Linked DNA regions of Homo sapiens: region 2 is linked to region 1. The links are contacts of gene promoters, found by promoter capture Hi-C in blood cells and fetal thymus (Javierre and others, 2016). All regions are on one chromosome and are shown on one strand. Each heading gives the region's core, a stretch centred on a gene start or on the middle of the fragment in contact. The rest is flanking DNA. Distances are from core to core; before and after follow the strand shown.

What was found. Contacts are between HindIII fragments. The CHiCAGO score rates a contact against its expected background, and 5 or more counts as called.
Region 2: the fragment with the promoter of PIK3C3 here is called in contact with the fragment with the promoter of PIAS2 in region 1 in 3 of 17 cell types (non-activated CD4 T cells, fetal thymus and naive CD8 T cells); the score reaches 6.2 in non-activated CD4 T cells.

Annotation. Positions count from the first base shown.
Region 1 is chr18:46,915,173-46,921,716 of GRCh38, forward strand. It overlaps PIAS2 (protein inhibitor of activated STAT 2), which reads right to left and starts at 2,335. Exons shown (of 14, transcript NM_004671.5): 1 at 2,150-2,335. The coding sequence starts at 2,173. It overlaps KATNAL2 (katanin catalytic subunit A1 like 2), which reads left to right and starts at 2,430. Exons shown (of 18, transcript NM_001387690.1): 1 at 2,430-2,754. RefSeq lists silencers at 1,705-1,784, 1,855-2,594 and enhancers at 1,731-2,484, 3,992-4,744. The HindIII fragment of the contact is 2,459 bases long and covers 561-3,019 here.
Region 2 is chr18:41,952,681-41,958,884 of GRCh38, forward strand. PIK3C3 (phosphatidylinositol 3-kinase catalytic subunit type 3) reads left to right here and starts at 2,554. Exons shown (of 25, transcript NM_002647.4): 1 at 2,554-2,679; 2 at 4,890-5,078. The coding sequence starts at 2,612. RefSeq lists an enhancer at 2,332-2,511. The HindIII fragment of the contact is 3,603 bases long and covers 1,291-4,893 here.

The DNA of each region.
Region 1 (6,544 bases), core at 1,085-3,584:
CTGTGTGATTTAGGTCAGGTTAACCTCTCTGTGCTTCAATTTCTTGAAAAAATTGTGAGAATTAAATAAGTATAGAAAAAATGCTTAGACCAGAACCAGGCATGGAATAACCACTATATTAAAATGGGTATATACCATCATCATCATTACTGTCTGTAATGGGATGTAAGGGCGGGGTACAGTTCATCTTCAAGTGTAGGGTAACATGGGTCTGCACAGAGCAGTTAAGGCAAAGAAAAGCAGATGATGCTTACTGCATGTGCCCAGCCTGCACCCCTCACTCCTCTGAAAATTCTCCCCAGTTAGTCTCTGTTGGGCACGTCATATGAATTGTGGGAGAGGGGCCATCTTCTAAAAATGCAAGAAGTAAAGACAGCTGATTTACAGGAAAAGAGGATGAAGCTGATCCACAAACCAAAACAGAGAGGAAGGCAGAAAGGAAGAGAAAAAAAAGCTTCTTTGGTTTCTATCACTTTCCAGTTGCTGGTTGCACTCCAATCTGAGCACTGACTGCTTTTACTCTGCTCTATAAGAGCGAGTAAATTCTTCGCTTTACATTAAGCTTTGGCCAACAACATTCACAAGAGTCTAATAAAAATCCTGGAAAGTTTTCATTAACAAAAAAAAAAAAAAGAACTTAGAAAACTTGTATACATCTGTTACTACACAAAAATTAAAAATGGCAGGTAAAAATAAATATAACTTCAGAGTTCAGTCTTCTCAACCCATCCTAAATCTAACGCATGAATTTACAGAGGTGAGGTTCAGGGTTCGTTGTTTGAAAAGCTCCACAGGTGTTAAAAGCTCTACAGCTGGGGCTCTGAGCCACTAAAACCCTTAAACTTATCAAGTATGAACACCCTTTACCTACACTTATGGTTCTCTGCATAAACTAGTATGGGGCATAACATGTATTAATATGTGTTTACTGGGAACTTAATAATTATTTTTGAAACAGCAGGAGGGAATATGGCAGGCACTGTGCAAACTCCAACAATCTCCGTTTAGAGCAGAGGATACGTTCTTTTGCTCACGTCCACTAAGCAGGTAACCAGCCAACATCCTTCCCCCATCCCATCTCTTGCGGAAAACAATAAATATACAAAACTGAACCTTTTACCGGATTCCTCTTCCTTATTTGAAAAAGAAATCCTAATATCATAAGTGTTACACAAACGAGTTGCAGTAAATGTAATTTCAAGTTTACACTCATCTCTACCTTGATACATTTAAAAAAAAAAAAAATCAGGGTTTCTGTCCGTAAACATCTCATTTATGTCGCCAGTAATTCAGCGATACACACAAATCCATCTCATTCGTCACACTTAGTTAGGACTTTAAAGGTTATCAGTCTGGGGGGAAAAAGTCTCTTCTGTTCTACCCCCATCACAGCCCTATTCCAGACCTCTGCTATACAAGGGTATCAACAATAAAGTTATGATCTTGTTTTAAGACTGAGAAGAAAAAAATATTTTTCCTCAAGAGTAAAAGGGGTGCACAAACCTCACAACATAGACTTTGCAGATTTCTTACTAAAACACTAAGAAAATATCGAGGTTTAAGGCCGATTATTGAAGGCAGGGATCCCCAAACATTAGGTTCCTCGAAGATGTTAGGAGGCAAGGGTGGGAGAAGGGGCCTTTTCTCGTGACAGACCTGACTAAACGGTAGCATCAGCCATAAGAAGAGGAGAGATTCCTAAACGCAACTTCAGCTTTCAGAAAACAGTCCTCCACCAAGTGAGTAGCATGCAGACTTGTGAATAGCCACAGACACGTACACCCCGGTGAAGGTGCAAGATCAAACGTTGCTTCCCACATCGGCCCTCACTGCGAACCGGGATGTCGGGTCCCCATGTGCCCCTCCTGGAGGGCGCCCCGACCCCCCGCGCCAGGTGTGCGGACCACTGGCAGCACTCAGGAGCCGGCTCGCCGCGGCCCAGGCCCGCCGCCCCCGCGCCGCCCGCGTGCCCTCCGCCGGCCCGCTCCCCTCCCCCGCGCCCTCGGCGCCCGTTCGTCCGCGGGCCGGGGCTCAGGGCTCCGCCAACCGGCCCCAGAGGCACGAGCAGGCGGCGGCCGGCGACGTTGCGGTTTCCCCACCTCCTCTCCCATCCCCTCCCCCGCGGCCTCCGCTCTCCACTCCCGCTTACCCTCAACTCTTCGAAATCCGCCATTTTATACCACCCGCGGGCGCCGCCGCCGCTGCCGCCGCACCCACTCCCGCTGCCGCCAACGACGCTGCCGCCACCACGGCCGCCGCCGCCTCCAGCACCATCCTGCACTGGGCGCCGCTTAAGACGCCGCGGCCGCCGCCGCTACAGCCGGGCCCGTCACGTGAACGGCGCGGGAGCTCCGCCTCCGACGCGCCGAAGCCCCGCCCCTAGCGGTGCCCCCTGCCCACCCGCGCGACCGCCTTCCGCCCGCGCCTTCAGTCCGCGCGGCGACAGCGCCCGCCCGCGCCTGCCCCGGCGTGCTGCCCCGCGGCTTGGCCCCGCTCGGCCCCAGGTCGTGCCTTCCCTCCCCGGCGGAGGCCCCTGCGGACTGCCTAGAGCTGGGTCGCAACTGAGGCGTTATCCGCGGGCCTGGCCTCGGGAAGTGGCGGGGAGGAAGAAGAGGCGGCCGGGACGCGTGACAGGAGCATTCGGGAAGATTCTTACGGTGCCCTTCACGCGGTGCCTATGGACGGAGAAAGCCGCCGCAAATAAAACCATCCCCCAGAGTAGTTGTGGCGGAATAATCTAAATATGGGTGTTGGGTAAGCTATTGTTCCCATCTAATGGTGAGGTTGTGTGACACCTCTTTGAATTGCTAATGTCCTGCAAGTACCAACCTTGCCGAGTTTTTCTGACCTTGAAGGGCACCTGAAGGTCACGGACTGCAGAGTTGGGAGAGTTAGGCGGTGGGGTTGGGGGCGGGGAGAAGTGAAATAAGAGCGCTCAGAAGGGCCATGCTAAAAAGTCGGGGAAATCTGATAGCTAGGAAGGAGTCAAACGCCAAGGCAGAGTAAGTAGATAGAAGGAAGCTTGATGGCCCCCCCGTAATGTGCTGATATAGGATGAAGGAAGATGCTGAGTCAAGATGGCCAGAAAAATCGCTGGACGGTGTCCAGGGTTCAATTTCCTTGAAGAATTGGGTGGAACCCACACACGAGAGGTCTTTAAAACAATGTAACTTTTAAGGCCCTGTTTAATCAGCCTCCTACCTACCGCCTCTTCCCACTACCCCTCGTTTCATCCGCACTGCACTTCCAGGTCTTCCTTCCACTCCCCTGCCCCCGCACCCCGCAAGTTTTGTTTTTTTGAGACGGAGTTTTGCTCTTGTTGCCCAGGCTGGAGTGCAATGGCACGATCTCGGCTCACCGCAATGTCTGCCTCCCGGGTTCAAGCGATTCTCCTACCTCCGCCTCCCGAGTAGCTGCGATTGTATTTTTGGTAGAAACGAGGTTTCTCCAAGTTGGTCAGGCTGGTCTCCAACTCCGGACCTCAGGTGATCCGCCCGCCTCGGCCTCCCAAAGTACTGAGATTACAGGCGTGAGCCACTGCACCCGGCCTCCCCTCAAGTTTTAAGGCTTCTAAATGTTGATCCTTGAACCAAGAATAATTTCCCACTCTCTTCTTTGTTCCTAACTCCTGTTCATCCTTCAGGTTTCACTTTAAGTGTCACTTCCTCAGGAAGACCATCCCTCACCCACATCCCACATTTTAATTCAAATTCCCCTGTTATGACCTCTCCTAGGACCCTGAACTTTTTCTTCCTGAGATGTCTCCATGGTAATTATGTAGGTATTTGTGTAATTGTTTATTTGATATATATGTGTGTGCGTGTATATATATATATGTGTGTGTGTGTGTGTGTGTGTGTTGTGTATATATACACAACACACACACATATTGTTTTGGCCAGGTGCAGTGGCTCATGCCTGTAATCCCAGCACTTTAGGAAGCCGAGGCAGGTGGATCACTTGAGGTCGGGAGTTGCAGACCAGCCAGGCCAACATGGTGAAACCCTGTCTCTACTAAAAATACAAAAATTAGGCCAGGAGCTGTGGCCCACGCTCTAAATTCCAGCACTTTGGGAGGCAGAGGCGGGCGGATCACCTGAGGTTGGGAGTTGGAGGCCAGCCTGACCAACATGGAGAAACCCCGTCTCCACCAAAAATGCAAAATTAGCCAGGCGTGGTGGCGCATTCCTGTAATCCCAGCTACTCCGGAGACTAAGGCAGGAGAATCGCTTGAACCCTGGAGGCGGAGGTTCCAGGGAGCGGAGATAGCGCCATTGCACTCCAGCCTGGGCAACAAAAGCGAAACTCCATCTCAAAAAAAAAAAAATTAGCCGGGTGTGGTGGCACATGCCTGTAATCCCAGCTACTCGTGAGGCTGAGACAGGAAAATTGCTTGAACCCAGGAGGTGGAGGTTGCAGTGAGCTGCGATCGCACCATTGCACTCCAGCCTGGGCAACAGAGTGAGACTTTGTCTCAAAAAATAAAAATTATTATTTTAAAATTTTATGTTAAAAAATTGTAAACCCACTAGACTATAATGGCTGATAAATGCCTAACAAATAGTTGGCCTTGTATTTGTTTAATGAATAAAGGAATGAATGAACAATGTCCAGGTTCTAAATCTGTCTCTCCACCATTAACTTTGTGATCTTCGCTTGGCTTATTCTTACTCTTGATTTATTCTCCGTAGACCTTGATTTACACCTCAGTAGAATTTAACATTGTTTAGTAGGCTTTAAGTGAATGCCACTGTGGGAGGAGTTTTCGGGGAATAGACGAATAGAGTACAATACAGCCCTGCCACAGAGGAGCTTACACCCATAAAGAGGACCAACATAAACACAAAACAGTAAGAAAAGAAAAGCAAAGCCCCACTGAAACTTACGTGCAGTGTTCTTTGTAGTTGCTTCCCAGCATTCATTCTGCCCCTTCCTCAATGTGTAGCAGCTCCTGGATGGGTTGGGTAGGTTTGACTGCAAAGAGTTCTAGGTGCTGCCCTAGACTGGCCTGAGTCATTAAGGACTGTTATGTCATTCTGGCCACAGTATTAGATCACAACTGGGCATATAAATCTGATTAGTACTGAGCATTTATAGGCTTTGCCAAGTAGATCAAGTGTGGACCCGTGCCCTAAGGTAGGCTAATCAGAGGGAAGCCTAGGACATTTATTCAGTGATTAGAGATAAGACTTTCTGGCATGTGGAACACTCGCCATTTTGCTACAGTGAAGAGCCAACCTGAGAACCAACCCTTCTTGTGAGCAGAAAAATCACACACACACAAAATCTCAGCATTGACTTTGATACTCACTCTGCCTCTGTACTGGCCAGTTTTCTTGAGCCAATGCCTTTCTTGTAAGGTTTTAGATTGTTTGAGTTGAGATTTCTATTAGTTGCAATAGAAAGAATTCTGAAATAGGGTGCTACTTTGTCTCACCAGACCAGATTATTAATTTGGCATTTTTTCTAATCTATACTCCCCAATAATCATTCAATATATGTTCAAAGGAATGGCTGAGTGGTAAAGGGTAGAAAGGGCATGTTTCTCTTCACTGTTGTGATCATTTCTGCTCTGGTCTAGATTTATATATCCTCATTAAAAAGAAATCCCTGCACTTACTTGAATCCAACTTCCTTATAACATAGTAATGTGGTATACCCTTAAAGGGGAGTGGAGAAGGAGGGAGGTGCAGTAATCTTATCACTCACAAAAGGCCACATATCAAAGTACCAGTGCCAGCCACATGCTGAACTCTTCTACCAGAGGAATTCTATTAAATATATCCTTTTTCTTTATTACATTTCCAATGGTAAAATGTTTTAGTGCTCTTTATGGATTGAATCTCCAGGCAATTACCTGACTAGGCTACCGTCTTAAAATGGCTCCAAATTAGAAGATTCATTATAAGTACTGTGATTAAAGTGTCCTAAGTTTTTTTGTTTGTTTGTTTTTTGTTTCTGTTTTTGCTTTTTGGGACGGAGTCTCGCTCTGTTGCCCAGTCTGGAGTGCAGTGGCACGATCTCGGCTCACTGCAACCTCTGCCCCCCCGAATTTAAGCAATTCTCTGCCTCAGCCTCCCAAGTAGCTGGGATTACAGGCACCCGCCACCATGCCCAGCTAATTTTTGTACTTTTAGTAGAGATGGGGTTTCACCGTCTTGGTCAGGCTAGTCTTGAACTCCTGACCTCGTGATCCACCTGCCTTGGCCTCCCAAAGTGCTGGGATTACAGGCATGAGCTACTGCGCCTGGCATAAAGTGTCATAAGATTTTAATACACGAAGTCAAAAATCTCAGGAGTAGCTTTTCCATTTACTAGCTGTGTAACTTTAGCAAAGTCTCAACTTAATTTTTCTAATCTGGAAAAGAAAAATGACTACACCTATCTCAGGATGAGATACCTGATCTGATAGATCAGGTGTATGAGTGTACTCTGTAAATTTATAAAGTGAAAGATGGTAAATTTTTTGTATCTAAACAGCTAAGCTGATTTTGAATCTAAACAGCTGATAAACACATAACAAAAAAAAAAAAGCACTTCATTA
Region 2 (6,204 bases), core at 1,304-3,803, 5.0 Mb before region 1:
ATGTTATTTTTTTCTCTTGATAATCTTTAAAAAGTTAAATCTATTTTGGGTTCTGTGAATGAATATCTTATAACTAAGTACTGACATTTGATTTTCATGCTTTTATCTGTGTTGTGTTTGCAACTGTTTTGGAAACAATCAGTATTACTTTAATTGTTATGAGCTAATGAGAAAAGGACAAAGTCAGGCTTAAAACAAAAAGATGTGTTGTAGGCAAGATAAAGCCAGAATACATCATGGTGGTTACACTCATGAAGAGTTCATAGTTATTTGAATAGAGAAAAAGAGTCTAGAAAAATGAATTGCCCTGTGGAATATAGCAGTATAGACGTGCTGAATTTCAAAGAATCAGTCCTGTAAGAGTAGCCAACACTATATTCCATAATCATTTTGCAAACAACAGTTTCCGTAAAAAATCCCACTATTATATTAAGATTGTTAATTTGAAGTTTTTATATTTAATTTGTAAATTTGTTTGGTTGTATATGTATATAATATTATCTTAGGTTTATACATTAAATACCATTACATAATGAAAGTAATTTATTCACCACTGGGATCAGATAATTTACTCCTTTACACATTGTCAATATTTTATTCAAGATTGAGGTTTCACATCAAACCTCACACTCATTGCTGGAGTTATGCCTTAAACAGAGTACTTGTGACAACAGTGTTACTGTTGAATGGCTGTGATAATTAGAAAGTTCAATTTGTATTGTTTGTTGAAATTACATTTCCTGTAAGTTCCAACCATTGGTGGCAGTTATTCTTAGGAACAAATCAAAGGTGCTCTTTTTGTTTAAACTTTAAGTTATAGGAGGATAACTATCATGTTTTTCTTTATTCTACCCAAATCCTTTTCTTGCCTCCATAAATATTTTTGAGAACTTATTTTGTGTAAAACATTCTGCATTAGCCATTTTTTTTCCTTTTCCAGGTTAAACAGCTCCACACCTTTCACCCTTTCTTGGAAATATTTTTTTTCTAATCCCTCAACATTCTAATTACGCCATTTTGCACATACTTTAGTGATGTCCGTCTTAAAATGCAGCACTTAGAAATAAAGACATAGGCTGGGCGAGGTGGCTCACGCCTGTAATCCCAGCACTTTGGGAGGCCGAGGAGGGCGGATCACGAGGTCAGGAAATCGAGACCATCCTGGCTAACACGGTGAAACCCTGACTCTACTAAAAAATACAAAAAATTAGCCGCGCGTGACGGCGGGCACCTGAAGTCCCAGCTACTTGGGGGGCTGAGGCAGGAGAATGGCATGAACCTGGGAGGTGAAGCTTGCAGTGAGCCGAGATCGCGCCACTGCACTCCAGCCTGGGCAACAGAGAGACGGGCACTCCAGCCTGGGCAACAGAGCGACTCTGTCTCAAAAAAAAAAAAAAAAAAAAAAAAAGAAATGACATAGCAGTTTGGGAGGCCAGGGCAGGCAGATCACTGGAGGTTAGGAGTTTGAGACCCGACTGGCCAACATGGTGAAACCCCATCTCTATTAAAAATACAAAAATTAGCCTGACTGGGTGGCGGGTGCCTGTAATCCCAGCTACTTGGGAGGCTGATGCAGGAGAATCGCTTGAACCCAGGAGATGGAGGTTGCAGTGAGCCGAGATGGTGCCAGCCTGGGCGACAATAGCAAAACTCCATCTCAAAAAAAAAAAAAAAAAAGAAATAAAGGCATAGAAAATGGAGACTTTCATTCAATATCATCATTAATAACCAGTAAGTAGGAAGTATTAAACTCAGCAATGCATTAGACAGCTAGCGGGGCAAGACACGGAAGTAAATGGCACACTGGTCTTACCTTCCAAGAGTTTTCAATCTAATTGGAAGGGAGTATTACAATTTTAGATTATAATAATTATAAAAACAAACATTATAGGAGCTCAGAGGGTTTAGAGATCTGTGTTCTGTAGTTATTACAGGAGGCCTCTAGATTCTAACTTGGGTTAGGGCTTGAAACTACATTGAATTTGAATATTCCCAGTTTAAACATGCACGCAAGTATTATGTCCAAAGTAGCATGAATACTGACAACACCAAACATGAAACCCAGATTTATTTATTCTCTATTTAGTCCTTTCCCTACTCTTTAGAGCAGAAAGAGAAAATCCTTGCTTGAGATAGCAAATTAGTGCTACACTTTTTGGGAAGGCCACTGGAATTTAAACCTGGCAAAATTCCAATTTTTGTGCTTGTAACCTGTTTAGCCGGCAGCCAGTGAAAGCTGTTATAATTCTTTTTGAATTGAATTTTCTTTCGTATTGTTTTAGGTACAGCTCAAGCTCAAATGATAGCGTCTCTTTTTCTTTAAAAAAAAAAAAAAGTGCTGTCAAGACAGGAAAACTGGAATGTAACCAGATTAGCCGTTTCCCGTATACATTTGCCCTTAAGCAAGATGGTGGGCGCCTTGTGCACATGCGCGGAAGGGTTGTTTCGGCGGGGAGTTCCGCCGCGTCGGAACTCGCTCCGGGCGTGGATTGGCGGCTTGCTGGCGGGGGCGGAACCGGAAGTTCCGTGTTGTGGGGCTCAGCTGGTTCATTTATGTTGTTTTTCCTGTACCTAAGTTCCCGCTGTAGGTGGTACCTTTGCAGACGGTGCGATGGGGGAAGCAGAGAAGTTTCACTACATCTATAGTTGTGACCTGGATATCAACGTCCAGCTTAAGATGTAAGAGAACACTCGGGACAGGGAGTGGGATTGCTGGGGCGTAGGGACGTGGGGGCAGGGGCCTGTTGGGAGTGAGAGGCAGAAAGTACGTGACTCGTCTCAAGGCCCAGATTGGGGGCGGCTGTGAGGGCTGTAGCCAGGGAGGCGCGAGAGAGTGGATCGTGGAGAGGGGCTCTTTTGGAAAAGGATTTAATACGTGGTCTCCGTGAGAAGCACAGCAGTAGGAATAGCCCTTAAGTTCCGCTGTATTTTACAGTCTTTAAAGTTTTTGCTGTTCAGCCTTTTGAGAGTTTATTACTATTTCATTGTAAATTAAGAAATCAAGTCTCGTCGTAAGTAAGAGGACGATCTTTATTTTGGAACGGGGCTTGTAGGGTGGAATGAAGGCTTCAGAAATTATGGAGAGGTAGACACAGGCAGATGCGATAGTTGAGAATAAGATGAGCACATGGTGTATTAGCACGGGAGGTGATAGAGGCCTAGAGTGAATCTTTGGGTAGTATGGCAGTGTTTAGTCAGGGAAGTTGGGAGTAAGTCGAAGATGAGGGTTCCAGTTTCAAAGGTACCAAGAAGATAGGAGAAAAGAGTCTTTGCAGGAAAACGTTGGGGCACCACGGCTGAAGTAAAGGTCAAGGGCGTGATATCTTGAGATGAGGATAATAGAACTGGTATAATGACGAGGGATGCACAAGACAGAGTTGGAAATTATGTCCCTTTTAAGGTGGTCATGTAGGAGTGTTGTCAAAGCTATCACAAATTATTGACCATAGCATCATCCATAATTAATAAACATTTCTTGTGTATGTTCAATTAATATTCAACAAATATGTGTCGGTCAAAGGCCTGCAGTAAGTGATAGATAAATTTTCTCAGTTGTCTGATGTACCTTTGAATGATCATTTCATTTTATTTTCAGAAGTCCCTTATTCGCTGACAAATACTTTACTTTTTAGTTTGTGGTGGTGGTGGTAAAAGTAATATGTCAACAACCACCTTGTACCTTTGTATGATACTTTATACACTCATTTAAGGTATTTTCCATAGCATACACCACTAGTAGTTTATACAGGATCAATATTGATAAAGGGCTTTCCTTCAGCTTGATGCTCAGTATTTCTTGGATATATGAATGCATTTTTTGAAATGTTTGAACATTAAAAATAAAGAAAAAGCCAAAAAAACCGGTCCCTTTTTTTTTTTTTTTTTTTTTTGGAGACAGGGTCTCACTCTGTCTCCTTTCCCTTTGGGATGACGTTCTGCTTCTTTTGCTTCAACTCTCATGCATTGTTCAGGATCATTTCAGACATCTATCTGGGGTACTAAGTCCCTTCCCCATGCCAGCCTAAGTACTCTTGAGACTCTGATTTATCTTACTGTAATGGGAAGAATATTGGCTTTGGCCTCCCTGCCCTAGTGTTTATTCTCAGCTCTGTTACTTACGTTGTGACTGTGGATAAGGAGTTTAGTTTATAAGTCTCTGTTTCCTCATTTATAAAATGAGAATATGGTGAAAATTATGTAAGAAAGAAAATATAAAATGCCTGGCACAGTATCTGATGTAATCTTGATGTCTAAAAAATGTTCCTCCCTCTGTGATAGTATCCTGTGCATATCTATTTATGACTTATACCACTGTTTTAAAGAAATGATCAGACAATGCATATGCATAGTAAAAGAAAAAAATGGAAAGAGTAGAATAAAAACATGCAGTTAAAAGTAAATTTTTTTCCCCAGAAGCAATGACTTAATATTTTATTGTAATACTGTATTGCTTATCTTTTCTTTCTTCTGGGCTTCTTTGTCCACTATGGTAAATGTTTCCTGAAAGAATAGATGAATATGTGGTCAACTTGAAATGAAGAAAATGAAACCAAGGCCTAGAAAGCTGGTGACTTCCAGAGGGTAGATCAAGGGTCAATGGCAGCGTTTAAAATTCAGAAGTATAAAATAGAGAAATGTGTTGATGAAGATGGGACTGATATTAGGTATGTTAGGATTTTAAGAAACCCTTATCATATATAAAAATGACATTAATTTCATATACAGGAAAATGTTGTTTAGGTAGCATACCTTAACACAAAGGTAAACTTTTTAGTACTTATGCATATATGTACATGCTTAAAGCATATATGTACATGCTTAGTACTTATGTATATATGTACATGCTTAAAAAATTCATGTCTGAAACATTGTTGGTCTTGTGCTTTCAGAGGAAGCTTGGAAGGGAAGAGAGAACAAAAGAGTTATAAAGCTGTCCTGGAAGACCCAATGTTGAAGTTCTCAGGACTATATCAAGAGACATGCTCTGATCTTTATGTTACTTGTCAAGTTTTTGCAGAAGGGAAGCCTTTGGCCTTGCCAGTGAGAACATCCTACAAAGCATTTAGTACAAGATGGAAGTAAGTTTTTTTGTGGCATATGGTATGTTACAGACTGTTCTTACCTTTCTTTATGGATGCTGCAAGTATAATTTAGTAGGATTATAGAGGAATTTCTTAATACCTATAGGCATTGATCAAATCATTTGAAGTAGAAACATACTCAGATAAAGTATTATGCATGTCAGTATTATAACTGCAATTGAAATAGAAATGGATTTATGTTTGTAGTTAGCATATTGACATTTTGATAAGCACTTGACTGATTTACATGACCAAAAACAAAAACACGTCTGTGGCATTTTAAAATTCTTTACCATCCTGTGCTCTTGAATGCATAAATACTTCTGGATAGTCTGAAATATTGTCCAACCTGATGTTTGGAGCTCAGATTTTTAGAGATAGATCTATTGCCATCGGTTCAGATAAAATTTTTATTATTATTTTACATATGAAACTAATTTATTTAGATTCATAGTTTATTCAGCATGGCACATTAGCAAGACCTTGTCAAGATGCAGGGTAAATATAATGAACATGAAGTTCCTGTTTTTTTCAGAAGAGTATTGTGGATCCTTAATCTGACTTCTTGACACTTCTTATTTGATAGACTATGTAGTGCAGTTCTGATGTTTGATCAGCGAGTGTTATTCAGCACTCTGGTAGGCTCAGTGTAGGATACACAGGCTGTATGCTTTTAAGGAAGGAGTGTTCATGGAAGACAGGATGTGACCACATGGACAGCCAGACTGTGCCATAGAGGGTTCAACCCTGTGTGTCCCAGGTGTCACCCAGTGTAGCTGGAAAGGGTTTTCAAACAGCAGAAGCCTGAACTCTGGTGATCTGGCCATATCGAAACCAAGTATTTTAATGGTGTAATTTCTTCAGTAGTCTTTGTGGAGAGATATCTGTCTGTCTGTCTGTCTATCTAGCCTATCTATCTGTATATATATATGTGTGTATATAGATATAGATATATATGTATATAGATATGTGTGTATGTGTATGTAGATATACACACACACATAAAAAATATATATATATACTTAATACTTTTTATTCTGGAAAATTTTAAACCTACAAAAATAGAATAATACAGTGAACGCCTAAGTTTCTGTTACATACCTACTGTTAACTCATGGCCAAT